Regions from separate parts of the Homo sapiens genome. Here all the other regions are linked to region 2. Evidence: promoter capture Hi-C in 16 types of primary human blood cells and fetal thymus (Javierre and others, 2016). All regions are on one chromosome and are shown on one strand. Each heading gives the region's core, a stretch centred on a gene start or on the middle of the fragment in contact. The rest is flanking DNA. Distances are from core to core; before and after follow the strand shown.

Evidence for each region. The method cuts DNA at HindIII sites, captures the fragments that hold promoters and counts their contacts. A CHiCAGO score of 5 or more calls a contact.
Region 1: a fragment that was not itself captured here is called in contact with the fragment with the promoter of MEF2C in region 2 in 4 of 17 cell types (megakaryocytes, M0 macrophages, M2 macrophages and 1 more); the score reaches 7.3 in megakaryocytes.
Region 3: a fragment that was not itself captured here is called in contact with the fragment with the promoter of MEF2C in region 2 in 1 of 17 cell types (total B cells); the score reaches 6.0 in total B cells.
Region 4: a fragment that was not itself captured here is called in contact with the fragment with the promoter of MEF2C in region 2 in 1 of 17 cell types (megakaryocytes); the score reaches 6.6 in megakaryocytes.
Region 5: a contact is called between a fragment that was not itself captured here and the fragment with the promoter of MEF2C in region 2, in 1 of 17 cell types (neutrophils). The highest score is 5.7, in neutrophils.

The regions. Positions count from the first base shown.
Region 1 is chr5:89,395,791-89,399,222 of GRCh38, reverse strand. The region is part of intron 8 of MEF2C-AS1 (MEF2C antisense RNA 1); the gene reads right to left. Among named protein-coding and RNA genes, the nearest start is that of LINC02161, 180 kb to the left of the region's middle. The HindIII fragment of the contact is 2,907 bases long and covers 44-2,950 here.
Region 2 is chr5:88,881,646-88,884,697 of GRCh38, reverse strand. MEF2C (myocyte enhancer factor 2C) reads left to right here and starts at 1,514. Exons shown (of 11, transcript NM_002397.5): 1 at 1,514-1,743. It overlaps MEF2C-AS1 (MEF2C antisense RNA 1), which reads right to left and starts at 1,368. Exons shown (of 10, transcript NR_136219.1): 1 at 1,213-1,368. RefSeq lists an enhancer at 407-456. The HindIII fragment of the contact is 10,727 bases long and covers 1-3,052 here.
Region 3 is chr5:89,436,560-89,439,913 of GRCh38, reverse strand. The region is part of intron 8 of MEF2C-AS1 (MEF2C antisense RNA 1); the gene reads right to left. Among named protein-coding and RNA genes, the nearest start is that of LINC02161, 140 kb to the left of the region's middle. The HindIII fragment of the contact is 2,270 bases long and covers 870-3,139 here.
Region 4 is chr5:89,453,163-89,456,113 of GRCh38, reverse strand. All of the region lies in intron 8 of MEF2C-AS1 (MEF2C antisense RNA 1), which reads right to left. Among named protein-coding and RNA genes, the nearest start is that of LINC02161, 130 kb to the left of the region's middle. The HindIII fragment of the contact is 3,925 bases long and covers 1-2,951 here.
Region 5 is chr5:89,723,718-89,727,034 of GRCh38, reverse strand. All of the region lies in intron 1 of LINC02161 (long intergenic non-protein coding RNA 2161), which reads right to left. Among named protein-coding and RNA genes, the nearest start is that of LINC02161, 140 kb to the right of the region's middle. The HindIII fragment of the contact is 3,655 bases long and covers 215-3,317 here.

The DNA of each region.
Region 1 (3,432 bases), core at 248-2,747, 510 kb before region 2:
TACCAATTCCAGTCCCAACAGCCTTGAAAATTACAAAAAAGCTTGTGATAAAACTTCAGCCTAGAAACTGCACATTTCTTATCCTGGCCACTGTGTAGGCTTCAGATAAATCCATAACCCTCAAACTTCTGAAGTAGAGACAACATCACTCCCAAGTCAGCACTCACTGTCTACAGTTGAAGTTTGACCCCAGTGTCTAGCTCAGAAACATGACCAAGAAGTAAGTGGTGGGGCTAGAACCAAAAAACCTCCACCATAGTGCTGACTGACTCCCATAGTCTACAATTGTAATACTGGAACTGGAAGTTCCAATACAAGGGCATCAACTAACTGGGAATAGGACAACTTTTTGTGGTATTTATAAAATATCTCTGGTCCACAAAGAAATGGTAATCAGGGGGCAGAAAAGATATTCATTTATTCATGCATTTGTATATACACACATGTTCATGACCTCAATATAATGTTGCATTCTTGGTGAAAATGTAAAGTGGTAAAACCATTATGGAAAATAGCATGAAAATTCCTCAAAAAACTAAAAATAGAGAGACTTTATAATCCAACAATCCCACTTCTGCATACATATCCAAAAAAATGAAATCAGGATCTCAAAGAGATACTGTAATTCCATGTTTAGTGCAGCATTTTTCATAAAACCAAGATATGGAAACAACTCTCATGTCTATAAACAAATGAATGCATAAAGTAAAATGTGGAATATATATTCAATGGAATATTGTTTGGCCTTACAAAAACAAAAGGAAATCTTAACATTTGCAACAACATGGATAAACCTGGAAGATACTAAGCTAATTAAAATAAGTCAGTGTCATAAACACAAATACTCTACTATTCTACTTATATGAGATATCTAAAATAGTCCAACACATGGAGAACAGAATAGTGGTTTCTAAGGGACTTGGAGGAACAGAAATGGGGAATTGTTGGTCAATGGTTATAAAATTTCAGTTATGAAAGGCAAATATGTTCTATAGGTCTGCTGTACAACGTAGTGCCTATAGTTAACAACAGGATATGATACACTTAAAAATTTGTTACAAAGGTGGATTTCATATTAAATGTTCTTACAACAAAAGGAGTGGGATGCATAAGGAAACTTGGAAGTGTTGAATATGTTTATTATCTTGATTGCAGTGATAGTATCACAGGTACATAAATATGTCCCAACTCATCAAACATGCATTAGGCATATGCAATTCCTTTGTATAAAAATTAGACTTTTCTTTTTTTAAAAAAAAAAAAGACCAGGGAGATTGAAATAGTGGCATTACAGAAATGTAATGGTGAGGTACTTAAAGTAGAAAGGACTAAAGAAACCATGTTCGGGTATAAGCATTTCATAGTTAGATAAAAAGCAAAAATAAATAAACTTTCATAGTTCTTGTATTGAGTAATATGTTCAACATTTCAGATATTTACCTCATCACTGAGCTTCAGTTCTTCCTTGAAGTTAACTCCATTATTAACCTTCAACAATTTCTTAAGGCTTGAACTAATTCTGACACTCATTATGTCTTTGATCTCCACCCCATCTCTGAGATTTAATTCTTAGGCTCTGTCCCATTCATCGCATTTGCCTTATCCCACTCCCAAATGACCACTAGCTAAAATTTCACTCTTACTCCAAGGAGAAGGTAAATGTTAGGTACAGAGCAAACTGTGGTATTAGAGGTTGGAAGTGAATGTCAGCAACAAGCTCATACCTGGAGATGAGGTAAAATAATAACAAAGGAGATAAAGGTTACACACATCAATTTTTGTAAAAACAATCATGTTTATATTATAAACTTAATTTATTTTAGAAATATAGAGCATATATAGGCATAGATGTATTTACAGATCCAAATCAGGAAGTATGTCATTCATGGGAATCTAGAGGGTGATTCATAACATTACACATATCTGGCTATTGGGTCTCTGGGGCATAGGTGGCAAGTGAAACCATAAGGCAAATGAGGAACATAAGAGACTCAGAAATGGAGGGAAGAGTATAGAATTGTCAATAAGAAGAAAAAAGGTGCACTGTCTAGTCCTCTTTTCCTATAAGTTTAGTGAAGAGTTGTGAAGAAAATGATTAAATCAAGACATAGAACGAAGTTCCTATAAAGGCATATTAATTGAAAAGTGTTTGATGGCATAGAAAAATGAATTCACAAGATCAGGGGAAAGGGTGAGAGCAAAGGAGCAGTCAAGACTGAAGTGTGTCTAAGGAATTAGAAGTAGTTGGATTGAAATTCACATGTCAGAGAGTAAAGTACAGAACATTTGACTTTCACTTTTGATAGTCACTGGAATAAAACATTGATGGATGCTGGAGTTGGGAAATAAACTAGAAGGCCATGGTAAAACAGGAACAGGATATGCAGACTTTGCTGTTGACAGAATTTGCAGCTTTTTGAAACCACAAAGGCCTGACTGGGGACTGGGATGTTGCTGTGATCTTGTAAACATGCTTCCTCTGCTTGGTTCTGTTGCTGATAACAGCTTCACGTTAGAAAACCGGGTTTTGGAGGACTGTCCCTCAGCACATTTACCTTCTACATGCTCAGCTCTTCAATGAAAACAGAGCATGTTAGGTAAAAGAGGCCCCAGTCCTCCTTCTTCCAGGAATTATGTTGAAGTTACTAGGCAATGTGAAGCTACATAAATTGGCAGTTTATTGGTGAAGTGATGATTTGCAAACTACAGCTTTATATAAAGTTGTAGAAACCAGGGCCTAAAATTATCAGGATAATATTGCACAACTGCTGACTCAAGAAAGCCTCAACTGTTTCCTTCCACTAAATAGAAAAGGCAGCATCTAGTTTTCATCCTTAAACCAAAACACACATTGTAGGAATGCCTTCTATCCTGATAATTTCACTCCTGTTTTGTGTTAGAACTTCACATATGGTATGATCTACAGTACTAGATAGGAAGGGGAGAAGCTTCACATCCCTAAGTCACTAAATTATCTAATCACTACATGTTGCAGTGACATCAGTAATGGGATGGTCCCCATAGCCCTTTGAGAGTTAACATGATCAGATTTGCCTGTTAAAAGATGATTTTCACACTATATGGAGGGTGGATTGGTAGGGTCTGTGGGAAGAGCAGATGAGATAAATCAGGAAACCACTGTCAAAATCTAGTGAGAACTGATGGTCTATAAGGAGAAAGAATATGTTTAGGGGGATTAAAGTTTGATGACTAATAGGATATGGGAGAAGGAATTAAGTAGAGAGAGGAAGGTAACTGGGATGAAAGCAAGATTTCTGGTTTGGGTGAAGGTGTCCTTTCTGAGATAGAGAACATAAGAAAGTGAGTGTGTATGACAGAAAAACTCTGGTATTCACTTTGGGGAATGTTGATTTTGGATATTCAACTTTAGACATGTTGAAGATTTCCAGCAGGCAGAAAGATATATAGTTT
Region 2 (3,052 bases), core at 265-2,764:
AAGTCATCAGCTATCGGCTAGGGTAGCCTAATGCATTTGGGAAGTTGGTTTGGTTTACATGTTAATGACCTGGATGAAGTCCAGTAAGGTGTGGAAAAGATAGAGTGGGGGGAGGGGGGGAACTCCGAGGAAGCTGCTTCCTCGGTAAATATTTCCAAACTGATTAGAAAGTTCATGGCCCCGCGATGAAGTCGAGATCTCAAATACTGGTAATTATTTTATTATTTCGTACATTACTAACATTAGAGAAACCTTTCGGCTCGCTTTCTAGCGCTCCAACCTCTCAGGGTGAAAACCGCGACTTCTGGGCGTGCAGGAAAAGCACGCTGGAATCGAGTGCTGCAGACATCCTGGACCGTGGTTTTTACGCGTGAGTAACGGAGGAGCGCACCGACCGGTGGAAGAGAGAAGTGGCTAACGCGTGTCCAAAAGGGGGAAAAGTCACAAGAGCAACTATTAGGGTCGCGCTCCTATTGGTCAGAGGAAAGATCCCGACTTTAGAAGGACTTTCCTGCTGGCTGGCTCGCAGCGTCCCCGGAGAGCAAGCGAGCGCGCCGCAGCGGGAGACTAGGTTCTCTCCGAGCGTCCTCCGCAGAGGCGCCGCGAGAGGAGCAGGGAGCCGCAGCTCGCCGTGTTGTCTTCATTTCGTGCAATAAAGAATTGTCATTAGGTTTGCGTATGGCATGTGCTATTACCCCACCGTAAAACTAAAATTAGCAAAATGTCAGGAATGGAAAGATTGATTCACCAAGATGCAATTATCATTTAAAAGTGCTTGATTGAGGTACTGATGTTCAGTGATTTATTCTGCATACCATATACATAATTAAAGTAGTGTAGTGGAGTAATTTATCAATCTAGTTGAGACTGGAGGGGTGAGGAGGGAGCTGCTGTATGTTTGTTTTATTAAAATGCTCCGAGGTCTAGTCCCGCCCCCCTTTTGCAAGAGTGAAACTGATGATTTCTCCAGCTCGCGAGGAAAGAGTCAACGGTTTGGGATTGTGGGGGAGAGAGAGACGGAGAGAAAAAGGCAGCGCGAAGCAAAGGCAAGGACAAAATTAAATAAAGGGGGAAAAAAGGAGGCAAAAGACATTTCATCGGACGTGCTGCTTAGAACCCCAACCATTCGTGCTCCGTCTTCCCTACCACCCCCGCCTCCCCTCCCAGTATCCTTCAATCCCCCCCGCCCCCACCACCCCCAGTCTTTTTTACGCGATGTTTCAAACGCTGTGAGCTGTTCTCCTTTTCCCATTCGTCTTCTGTCACTTCCTTCCTGGACGCAGTTTTCTGGACGAGTCTGGTTACTTTTAATCCGACCGGCCGCTGAGAGCCACTTTCTCCTCCTCCTCCTCCTCCTCCTTCTCTTCCTCCTCCTTCTTCCTCCTCCTCCTCCTCTTCCGAGCGGCCTCGGCGCGCGCGAATGCGCGGCCCCGCGCCCCCCCCCTCGCGCGCGCTCCCCTCGCGCGCGCGCACACACGCACACATCGTCTCCAGCTCTCTGCTCGCTCTGCTCGCAGTCACAGACACTTGAGCACACGCGTACACCCAGACATCTTCGGGCTGCTATTGGATTGACTTTGAAGGTTCTGTGTGGGTCGCCGTGGCTGCATGTTTGAATCAGGTGGAGAAGCACTTCAACGCTGGACGAAGTAAAGATTATTGTTGTTATTTTTTTTTTCTCTCTCTCTCTCTCTTAAGAAAGGAAAATATCCCAAGGACTAATCTGATCGGGTCTTCCTTCATGTAAGTACCCCTGATATTTCTCGAGGAAATAGAAAACCCGGGTATTGTCTCTAAAATCTGCATCAATATATTCCACGGCACTGTGTCTATCTATCCCTGTGCCTTTTTTGAAGGCTGAAGTTGAGGCTCGTTGTGCATTCTTTTTCGTTAGATTCCATGATTTCCTTGTTTGTTGCTAAAAGTAACTTTTTAGATAGTCGTATCCGTTTGCCATCAGCTATTGAAATCACTCCTGACTCGTTCCTGTCACACCAGTGTATTTAAAGTTTCATGAAGTTAGTTCACGTCATTAGCATGTTTGATATGGTGGAGCGTGTGGAGCCTGGTGGATTTTAATATTTCACAGCATGTTCTGTGACCTTGAAGTAGACGCCTTAAGATTTAGCAGTTAGTTCACTGTGGAAAGATGCTCCCATGAGTCCCCCCAAAGACACTGATTTGCCCTGGGTTATGCTTCTGAGCCACTAATTCTTGGGATTAGTTTGACCTAAAGCATGGCTGTCTGTCAGAGTATACCTTTGTGCATTTCCTTCCCTCACCAAAGTGCCGGCTTGACAGAGGGCTTCTTAATTGGTGTGGACAAAAAGTAATATCCCTGCCATAGTAGTCTACACATTTCACAATTCACGTTCGATTTCAGCATATGGATTGCTGTTCAGGTCAAGTCAAATACATAGCTGTTTAAAAGCAAGCAAGGTTAAGTCACTTAAATTGCCTTCTCTTTGGACTTGGAATGAAAGTTACCAAACTCGATGATAAAGTTTGTCACAAAGGAAGTATATATAGATGTGGCACATTGTTTATTTTATTATTAAATATTGTGGAAGTATTTAAATTTAATGCTAATGTTACCTTCCTTCCCTGAACATGGCTATTGCTTTTTAAAGGAAATTTTATATCTGAATCACTTCTGACTATTCTAAGTCCAGTAGTTATCATTCTTTGGGGAGAGCCTTTTTTTGTCACATTTTAGGAATGCGTGTCTTTTGTATAAAATACTTTATATGTAAATGCTGACAGTAGACTAAGTAGAATTGGGCTCTCTGCCAGTTCCTTAACCGGTCCTCAGTGGAGAATTGCTTTGACACAAAGTGCGTTTTACTATTGTGAATCTGAAACTAACTCTAATAGTAACTGTCTTATGAAATGCTTGGGGACTGCATATAATTTCTAAGTGCTATAAAGGAAACTCCAGCCACCTCATTATACCAGTCCAAAAAAAAAAAAAGCGACTAGCCTACTTTCACTGGCACCTTGCAATGGAATTGTGGTTGCAGAGTAAAGATGTTTATGTGGAGTATAATAACTC
Region 3 (3,354 bases), core at 755-3,254, 550 kb before region 2:
ACTTGAATTGTTCTGGGTTGATCTCAGAAAAAAAGGCAGAGAAACACAGTAGGACTGCTTTAAAGTTACATGTTCTCTATTTCACCTATATTACAAATGGTCCATGTGGTTTTTGGAGTCTAGAAATACCTAAAGGAACTGATATCACTAGCAAAGATTCCATAAGGCTGACATGTAACTTTGCTTTCCATTTACAGCAGAAACAGCCTAAATTACCGTGGAAACAGAAGCACAATTACTTTGCCAGAATCTGTTATATAAAGTAGTAATAATCACTTTCTCTTGTTGTCAGATAGGAGAATACCACATAAGTAAAGTGGAGAGAAAGTGACTGTAGGGAAAAGAGAGGGGATGTGAAGGTACACACACACACACACACACACACACACACACAAAAGAAAATGAAAAGGGTCTGAATATTATTTTATAAAACTTTGGTTTGTTTTACAAGACAATAAATTAAAGCAATTTTTCTGAGTAGCTCAGGCAGTAAAACAGTTCATCTGAATTAGTCAAAGTGGAAATGTGAGTTTCTGTCTGAAGAACATAGTTTAACCATAAATTCATGATTCTATACTTTCTCTCTAGCCAGTCCAGAAAAAAAGTCTATCTCTTTCTGGTGAAGAGATTTGAAGCATTATCTTCTTTGTAGCATCTGATTCTGTGAAAAGTTAAGGAAAGGCATTCTTTGGATTTCTAAAAATTATGCACTCAGTGTAATCAGGATAGACTAGGTTATACTGAGATAACACCTCCAAAACTGCAGTAGATAAGTGCAACAAATGTATATTTATTGATCATATTACGTGTTCATCCCAGGACAGCTGGGAACTCAGCTCTACATCTTCTCACTCCAGGTTGATGAAGCTTCTATCATCTGGAATGCTGCTGGTTGCCTTGACAGTGGTAGGGAACAATAGCAAACCGAATTTCCTTTTAAATATTCCATCTTGAAGAGACACCTATCACTTCTCCTCACATTTCATTAACCAAGGCAAGTAATGAGGACACGAAGTGTGTTTCATGTCCTGAGGATAGGGAAATGTATTTTGACCATGTGACCAGAAGGAGAGGTAATAGTGACCAATTATAAGAGACCCTCCATGGGAAGGCTGAGCAATGAATTTTGTCTCTTTTCATTGTTGTTTACAAACTCTTTCATCTTAATGATTGTGTGAAAACCTACATTGATTAATATGGTCAAAGGTAATGCATAGCTTATCCTTCATAGTTTCATTTCAGACAAAAATAGAAAAAAAGTAGACTCCTGCTTGCAGAGACCCATTTCCCTGAAATGTTTTCTGGCTTTTTGTTTTTTTGACAAAAGAACAGCCAGCCATTAGAAAATTACTGGGCTTGTAAAAACATCGCTATTATAATAAATATCCTAGAGTCTCAGTGTATGAGCAGTGCTATGGACACCAACTTCTCAGTTTATTTTATGTGCTCTTTCTGCCTCTCTATGTTGAAAGTCAGGGCCTCTGCTTTCTCCAAAGATGTCCTTGGATTGACATCGCCATTATGGCACCAGTTGTTATTGCTGTGCTGTTGCCAAGGTAGCCAAAATATAGACCTGGGTTCAAAGTAGTAACTGGGTGTGTAAGAGGGTAGTCACTTCTACTCTCATGGATACAGCTGCTTGAATGTGACAAATACTATTAAGATCGTGGGTCTTATTACCTCAAACCACAAGGTGCTATCTGAACAAATGCTTGGCTTTTAACTGTCAGATTCTTGAATGTGTCACATTTTTCTTCGGATCTTTGGGTTATTGTAACAGCTGTTTGTAAACATTGTAAAGCCCACATTAGCTACAGAGTGAGTAGAAATATTTTGACCCAAATATCTGCCCCCTGAACCATGATAAGGAATGTAGCCTGTATGCTGACACTTAAGCAGTAGATTTAAATAGAAACTAGGATCAACTTCCAGCTGAATAAGTCAATAGGCATTTTTGATTTCTGACTCCATCTGGGTCAGTTTTCATTCATCAGATGGCCCAAAAACATCCATTGACGTTGAGACCTTAAATGAAAAAAAAAAAAAAAAAGGTAATAAACTAACAGGTATTTCCAACAAGATTTTGGCTGGGCAATATTTTCAATGAGAGTCTAATCTATCCTCTTTGTTTGACAGTTAAAGTTACCAGTGCTTGTTTAATAGCCATCCTTTTCTTTAGAAACAGGGACACAAACAGCTTTAGAATTTGTCATGCTCTGATCTCTTTCATTCTGAAAATACCCCATGCTATTTTATGTGGTGGTAATGAGTTAGATATTTCTAGTGTTTGCCTGGGTAAGCAGTCATGAGGGCTGTTGTAATAAGTAAATAGTAAGACTACATTGCTCTGATAATAGCAACTTTCATTGAAGGATGTGAATGTGCCTTGCAAAAGAATGATATAGAATCCTTAGAAAGGCTTTTATTAGCAGAAATGTAATACAACTATTTTTAAAATGGAAACAGTAAGGCAGAGTGGAGAAAGAATCTCTGATATTGTGTTTCTAGTATCAATTGTAATTTGGGACATCTAAGCTATCAACCCAAGCAGTTAAGAAAAGTTCTAGTAAGAAAATGAACTTGTAGCACATTGAATATTATGGGAAATCTTGTCCTCAGCATTTCTGGATTTTGTAGATCCACATATCTGCCAAGAAGTTGTATTAGATAGTTACCTTTGGAAGCGGCCAAATGATATACATCCAGTTGAAATTGTGATTAGGATTGAAAACATATTTCTTACATTAATAATCTAATCCTTTTGTCCACTCTTTACAAAATAATTAGATATATTATGGCCATGACCCCCAAAAGTTAAAGATATTTCCTATCAAGCTCACTTAAATATAGACAACCATCTACTATTTTATATATAATGGTTATAGCAGTAAAGATAAAGCTCATATATTTGCTTCTGGAAGAAGTACTTTTTTTTTTTTAGAAGATCAACCCTCTTGTTTTTTATTCTAAATATTTGAGTCATAATTAAAGGTAGTTAGGATTAAATACATAAATAACAAGGTAAGGTAGCTTAAGTGTATGCTGGGTAACAGGCAATGTCAGACCAAGATTTTACTGGAGCTAATCAAGACAACTGAATGTGGGATGCATGTTTTCATTGTAAAAATGCAGGCAAGCTTTTTAATGTTTTCTTTTCATGTGATGTTTAGACAAATTGAGGTTTGTTCTTGTCTCATCGAGCTCTCATTTTCTCTTTCTGTCGTTCTTATTCTCTCTCTCTCCCTCCTTCCCTCAAGGAGAATCTCGAAATGAAACTGACAGAGCTGTGTTTCACTCTTTTATGGTGTAATGTTTGTGAGGTTTCTCACATTGTTTACATGTTTCCTTGAAATA
Region 4 (2,951 bases), core at 202-2,701, 570 kb before region 2:
GCCAGTTTTTTGCTGCATCCCCTCATGGCAGAAGGAGAGTTAGTTGTCTGATGTCTTTTCTTATAAGGGCACTAATCCACTATGAGGACTCAACCCTTATGACCTCATCTGCACCTAGTTACCTTACAATGGCCCCAACTGGAAATATAATCATATTGGGGGTAAGAACTTCAACATATACATTTTGGCAGGATACAGTTCAGTCTATATCAGACTGTTGTCTCAAAATCTGTGACCTAATATCATCAGCTTAATGGCAAGGTTTTCAGTAGAACCAATAAACCTTGATGACCAAGATTTCAAGTTGTCAGACATTTTGACATTACAACTGCAACTTTGGGGATGATTAGCTCTCTATATTATTATTATTATTATTACTATTTTGAGATGCAGTTTCACTCTTGTCACCCAGGCTGGAGTGCAATGGCATGATCTCAGCTCACTGCAACCTCCGCCTCCTGGGTTCAAGTGATTCTCCTTCCTCAGCCTCCCAAGTAGCTGGGATTACAGGCACCCACAATTATGTATAGCTAATTTTTGTATTTTTAGTAGAGACGGGGGTTTTACCATTTTGGTGAGACTGGTCTTGAACTCCTGACCTCAGGTGATCCACCGGCATCAGTCTCCCAAAGTGCTGGAATTACAGGCGTGAGCCACTGCACCAGGCCCTCTACACATTATTTTAACCAAATTCTTCTTTATTCCTAAAAAGTTCTTCCACATAACCTCTTCAATCAACTTTTATGCATGATTACAAATTCCACACAAATTTTGACCCTGTCTCCCCACTGTTTGCTTTCTTTCTTTCTTTCATTCTTTCTTTTTTTCTCTCTCTCTTTTTCGCCACTTTTGTCCTATCCACCCATTGCCTCATTCCCTACCTAGTATTTACCTTGTCCTACTCAGCCTTAATCAGGACAGTCCCTACATCTCCCTGCAACATCTGAAAATCTTGCCTTTGAGTCAAACATCTTATAATATTTCTTCTCTGGTTGCTTCCTCTCATTACTATCTGCATGAATCTCACCAAAGCATATGGGATTTCTTGACCACTTCTCTTTTCCTCCTTCCAGAAAAGTCAATTTTCCTGACACTTTCTCTCTAGATTCTCTTCCAATGTCTCTCCCTTTGCTTTCTCTATTTCTCTTGCTTCTATTACAAACCTAAATCTAGGCATTCCTCTAAGGCTCTTTCCTTTATCTTCCCTATTCTCACTGCATTTCCTGATACCATCCACTTCCGAAAGTCTTACTTTCACCTCTATGAAGATAACAACCAACTAATTCTTCATTCTAACTTCACAGTTCAGATCATAATCAAGATCTCAAGCCTGGGAGAAGGTCAGGGCTGGGAGAGGAAGGCATGAAGAGGTTTTTAATTGGTGACAGAAAGAATATTTCAATGATAAATATAATTATCTTTGATATCATTCTCTAGTTGATTTATTACCTGGCCTTTCATTTCATTTAACACTTTCGTTTTATACTACTTCTTCCGGTATAAAAAAAGCTCAGGCTTCTCCTACTCTACCATATCACAGTCACACTGCTGTAGCTGAGTTCCTTTTCCAGTGTCATTTGGATGGCTCTAAATAATGTGCATAAAGTTGTTTTCACCATATTTGTCTTCTTTTCTTACCATCCCCATGTGTGTTTTATGTTAGTAGTTTTATCACTCTTCTAGCAGTCCAGTCTCAAATCCCTTTTGTGTCCGTACATTCCCCCCATGGACATATATTTAATAGTCTTCATAATCTCTGAATTTTTTTCTGGAATTTCTCATGCACCTAATGGCTCCATTTCCTTTCTATTGGCATTCTTTTATTCAGACTTTCATTTTGGTTTATCCACATTATTGTATTCTCTCCCTACATGATTCTCTCTTGACTGCTCATTTCTGTCTCCCAGTTCATTATTGCAAGCCACTCATTTTCTTCTATCTTCATTCACCTTAATGAGTTCTTACTGCCTATAAAACAAAACCTAAGGCTTTCAAGGCCCGCTACAAATCAGGAAGTGCCTAACTTTTGTGATACACAACCTGCAAGTTCTCTCCAAATACCCTGCACTTTTCCCGCCAAATCCTACTTATCATTTTCCTTTTTTAGAGATGTGGTCTCACTGTGTTGCCCAGGTTGGTCTCAAACTCCTGGCCTCAAGCCAACCTTGTGCTTCAGCCTCCCAAAGCACTTGGATTACAGACATGAGCCACTGTGTCTGGTCTGCTTATCATTCTTGAATGAACTTGGTTAATAACACAGTGGTGATGCCACTGCCTTCACATGGTCAAGAGGTTTCCCCACTTTTTCCATATGTTGAAATAGTCATTCCTTTAAAGAGCAACACAGATGTCAACCTCACCTGAAGTCTTCCCTGTTTCTTCCTGCCAAAACTTTCAGTTCAGACACACACACACACACACACACATTTTTAAATTTAAATGTCTTACCACCTTCTACTATAGTTACTGTTACCCCTTCCTTATCTCTTCCAATAGATTAGGAATAACTTTGTGTCTAGAACCATATCTTATCTATACCTTCCTCCTTCTCTACCACTATTGTCTAGATCAATACATACTTGTTCAAGTAATGTAGGTTAAATTTTGATAAATATCTATCTTTGGAATAAAAATCATTAACTTACTACTATGAAAAAATCTATACTTTTACTATTATGTGTGATTTCTTAAGAGAGTACTTAAAATAATTATAATACTGTTAATGATTAGAGGAAGCTGCCTTTGGTTTTCTTTTCTCTTTTTTTTCTTTGTTTTTGAGAGAGAGTCTTGCTCTGTCACCTAGGCTGGAGTGCAGTGGCATGATATCTGCTCACTACAACCTCTGCCTCCCAGGTTCAAGTGATTTTCTTGCCTCAGACTCCCCAGCAGCTGGGATTATAGGTGTGCGCCACCACACTCAGCTATTTTTTAAAATATATTTTTAGTAGAGA
Region 5 (3,317 bases), core at 793-3,292, 840 kb before region 2:
GAAAAAATGTGTAGTCAAACTGAGATTAGAATCCCAAGTGTTACGTATTTTTAAAATTTCTATGAGGTATTCAAAGGATGCCAATTGTTATAGCAAGGGGTTAGAGGCAAATTTTAAAATACCTGGTATAAGATCTTCCTTCAATGTAATTATAATCTAACTAGAAGACATGACTTATTAATAATTTACTGACTGATTCATATATATTAAAGCTTGTATGATTCAGAGAAGGAAAAAGCCTAGTTTAGGGATTACATTAGAGAAGGCTGCTGATCAGCACATTTGCCATCATTGATGAATTCTTCTTCTAGACTGGTCTTGGAATTAGAAGCTCTCTGTTTCCTGATGGTTTACATTCTAGCTGTGTGTCCTTGTTGAATTTGCTATGCTTTTCTGAACCTTAATTTCTTCCTCCATTATAGACGGCTAATACTACCATGTAAGTATTTGATGAAGACTAAGTGTTGCCCCACCATTTGGCAAACCGTACATTGTTATAAATATGTAAGATATCTCTATGATCATTTCTCTGGGCCAGGCAGAGTAGGAAAAAAATCTACTTGAGGATGAAGATATTATGACAATTATAATAACTAATATTTATTAGTTATTGTACTTATTTATGGTGGGTTAAAAATATAGGTACCACATGGCATTCATCAATGCCAAATTAGGTGTTCAGAAGATAAAACTTGTGAATTCAGGGTAAGAAGAGATCATCATGAACTGTGGAGGTCAGGAATGACTTCATGGGAGAGCTTGGATGTAACGTGGACTTTTTTAAATGGAAGGACTTTGACATTCGAGGTGAACGAAGAGAGCACTCTGATCAAAGGGAACAGAAGAGCTAGGTATGTCAGGAGGAAAATCTCTTTCATAACCCAAGAAAAATACTTGTACCCCAAATGTGATTTGTATTAAAAATGACTTTCAATTTGTATGGCTACAATCAGGGCATGCTGTCAATAGTTTGCCTCTAAGCATCATCACTGACCATTGTCATATATTTAGCAGTTCTATATTTTAGTGCTATCTCCCTTGTCCTTCAAGACATTTGAGTTTGAGATCCCTTGCAAAAACAAGAGCAGATTTAAAATGGAAAAGAGGAAAGTAGAAGATCAAAGATGATCACCTCCCAAGGTTAAAAAGTAAAGTTTAGTGACTTCAGATGCAAAGCATGTTCTAATAGATATTATAATAGAAAACAAAAAGATTTTAAAATAGTCATAAAAAACCCCTTACCCTTTTGAGAGGAATAGACATTGCTGTAGATTCTTTAAGTTATTTGTGGTTGGTAGAATTAACCCCAATTTAATAGATGAGTAAACTGAGTCTCAAAGGTTGTGAGTTGTCCAGGATTATGCTGCTAACAAAAGGTAGCTTGGGATTGAAGTATTACTACTTATCTATCATGTGTCACGTATGGAAAGACACTACCATATATTTTCTACTTCAGTCTTCATAATTAGTTTGTGTGTGGGGTATTAATACTCCCAATTTTACAAAGGTTTTTGTGCTACATATTTCTCAGTTGAGGCAGGGATCTCTGGGTATCATGGCAGATGCCAAATTTCAGATCCTCAAGACTGACATTTTCGCTCCTTTATGTTAGAAGGATCAAAACATCAGAATCTAAGCCATTAGATGCCATAATAAAGCAGTTCACCAGCCCTTCATTCTGATGTGGGTTATTAATATTTCTGGTCAAAGCCATAGGTCATACTTAACCAACTTCAGTGGAAAAGCCCCAGGTGCAGCAAATACTAAGGGAAAACTCCAGACTTCCCTGAACTCTTAATGTTGTTCAACACTTTAAAAAATATCCTTTAAAGATATGTGCAAATTGCCTTCTTCAAATAGGAAAAGCAGGCAGAGGTTCTGTAATTTCACACCTGCTTCTGGCCAGGCATGGCCTTTGGGCTTTAAAAAAATGACTCAACTTTTTCTTAGGCCTGTTTTAGACCCTTGCAGCACAAACCTTCTGAATGAAATATGTCTTGGGTTGATAGCCTGCTTCAAAACTACTTGGTGCCTCAAACAGCAGGGTGTCTAGAAATACTAGTCTCTGCTACTAGAGCAGAAATCTTAAAGAGCCATGCAAATTGGATCCACCCGGTCTTTAACTTGGGCCAATTCTTCCACAGTATGTGCAGACACATTCTTAGTTGACTTGACTGCATAATAGAGATGATTATAAGCACTTACTTATCTCACAGGGGTCTACTGAAGATTAATTAGTTAATGTTGGCAGACCAAAGGTGCAATATATGTGCTAAGTATTATTATTATTACGGTGCCACTTCTCTTTAAAGAATGTTGTTTCTAAAGTCATAGTGCCTATGTGCCATCTGCTCACAGCAGCCTTTACCATCTCCCTACTCAGAGACTGAATCCGGTATCTGAATAAATAGATGTGCTCAAAAAAAAATCTATCACACCTCCATCTGTGCTTATGGAATATGAATTCAGACATAGGCAGAAATGCAAATCAATCACAAGTGGAGAGGCTTCTCCAGTGCCCAGAGTCACATTTAGAGATGTTGCTCTAATATTCTTGCTTTTCATTTTAGAATCCGCTAACTCACGATGCGATGCTTCCGTGAAATTCTGTCTCTTCTGCATCTGAAATAGGGTGTTATGTTAGAGCCCTGAACTGCCTTCTATTTTGTTCCCAGGAAGTTGAAAGAGAAAACTTCCCCCAGAACACGTTCGCTGCTGATCTTTTGCCGAAATTAGCTCCATGATTTTAATGCTTTAGATATTAGTATAATTATCAGAAGCTAATGAGTTTTTAAAGGTTTCTATATGAAATCATGATTTTGAAAATTCCCTCCTGCCAGAATTATAACTAGGTTATAGACAACATGACATGATCTATGACCCATTTTTACTAATGACTAAAGAATGAAGATTCAGCTTCTTATGAATAAGCACTCTTTCTCGAACATGACAGGGCACTGCAACTATGAAAGCTATGAAAATTAGAAAGATTAAAACCTTGAACTAAAATTATCCAAATGTTTCACAGAAGCGACTATAGTAATATAAATATCATTCCTTTCTTTTGAAAGTTATTGGTATCACAATTATCATAGATATTTAATATTCTCCCACAGTAGGTGGCTCTATGGAATTATTTCTCCCCATCAACCAACTCGCTCTTCCTCGAGTCAGCTGTTGAAAATAAATTTATCTTCTCTCTGAATTTCACCTCACTTGATCCATATACTCATGATAATTCCAGTAATTTTTTTGTTTTATTTTCCTGTGCCCAATTTGTTAACAGATTTTCTCTTTAATCCAAAGATATCCTAAGA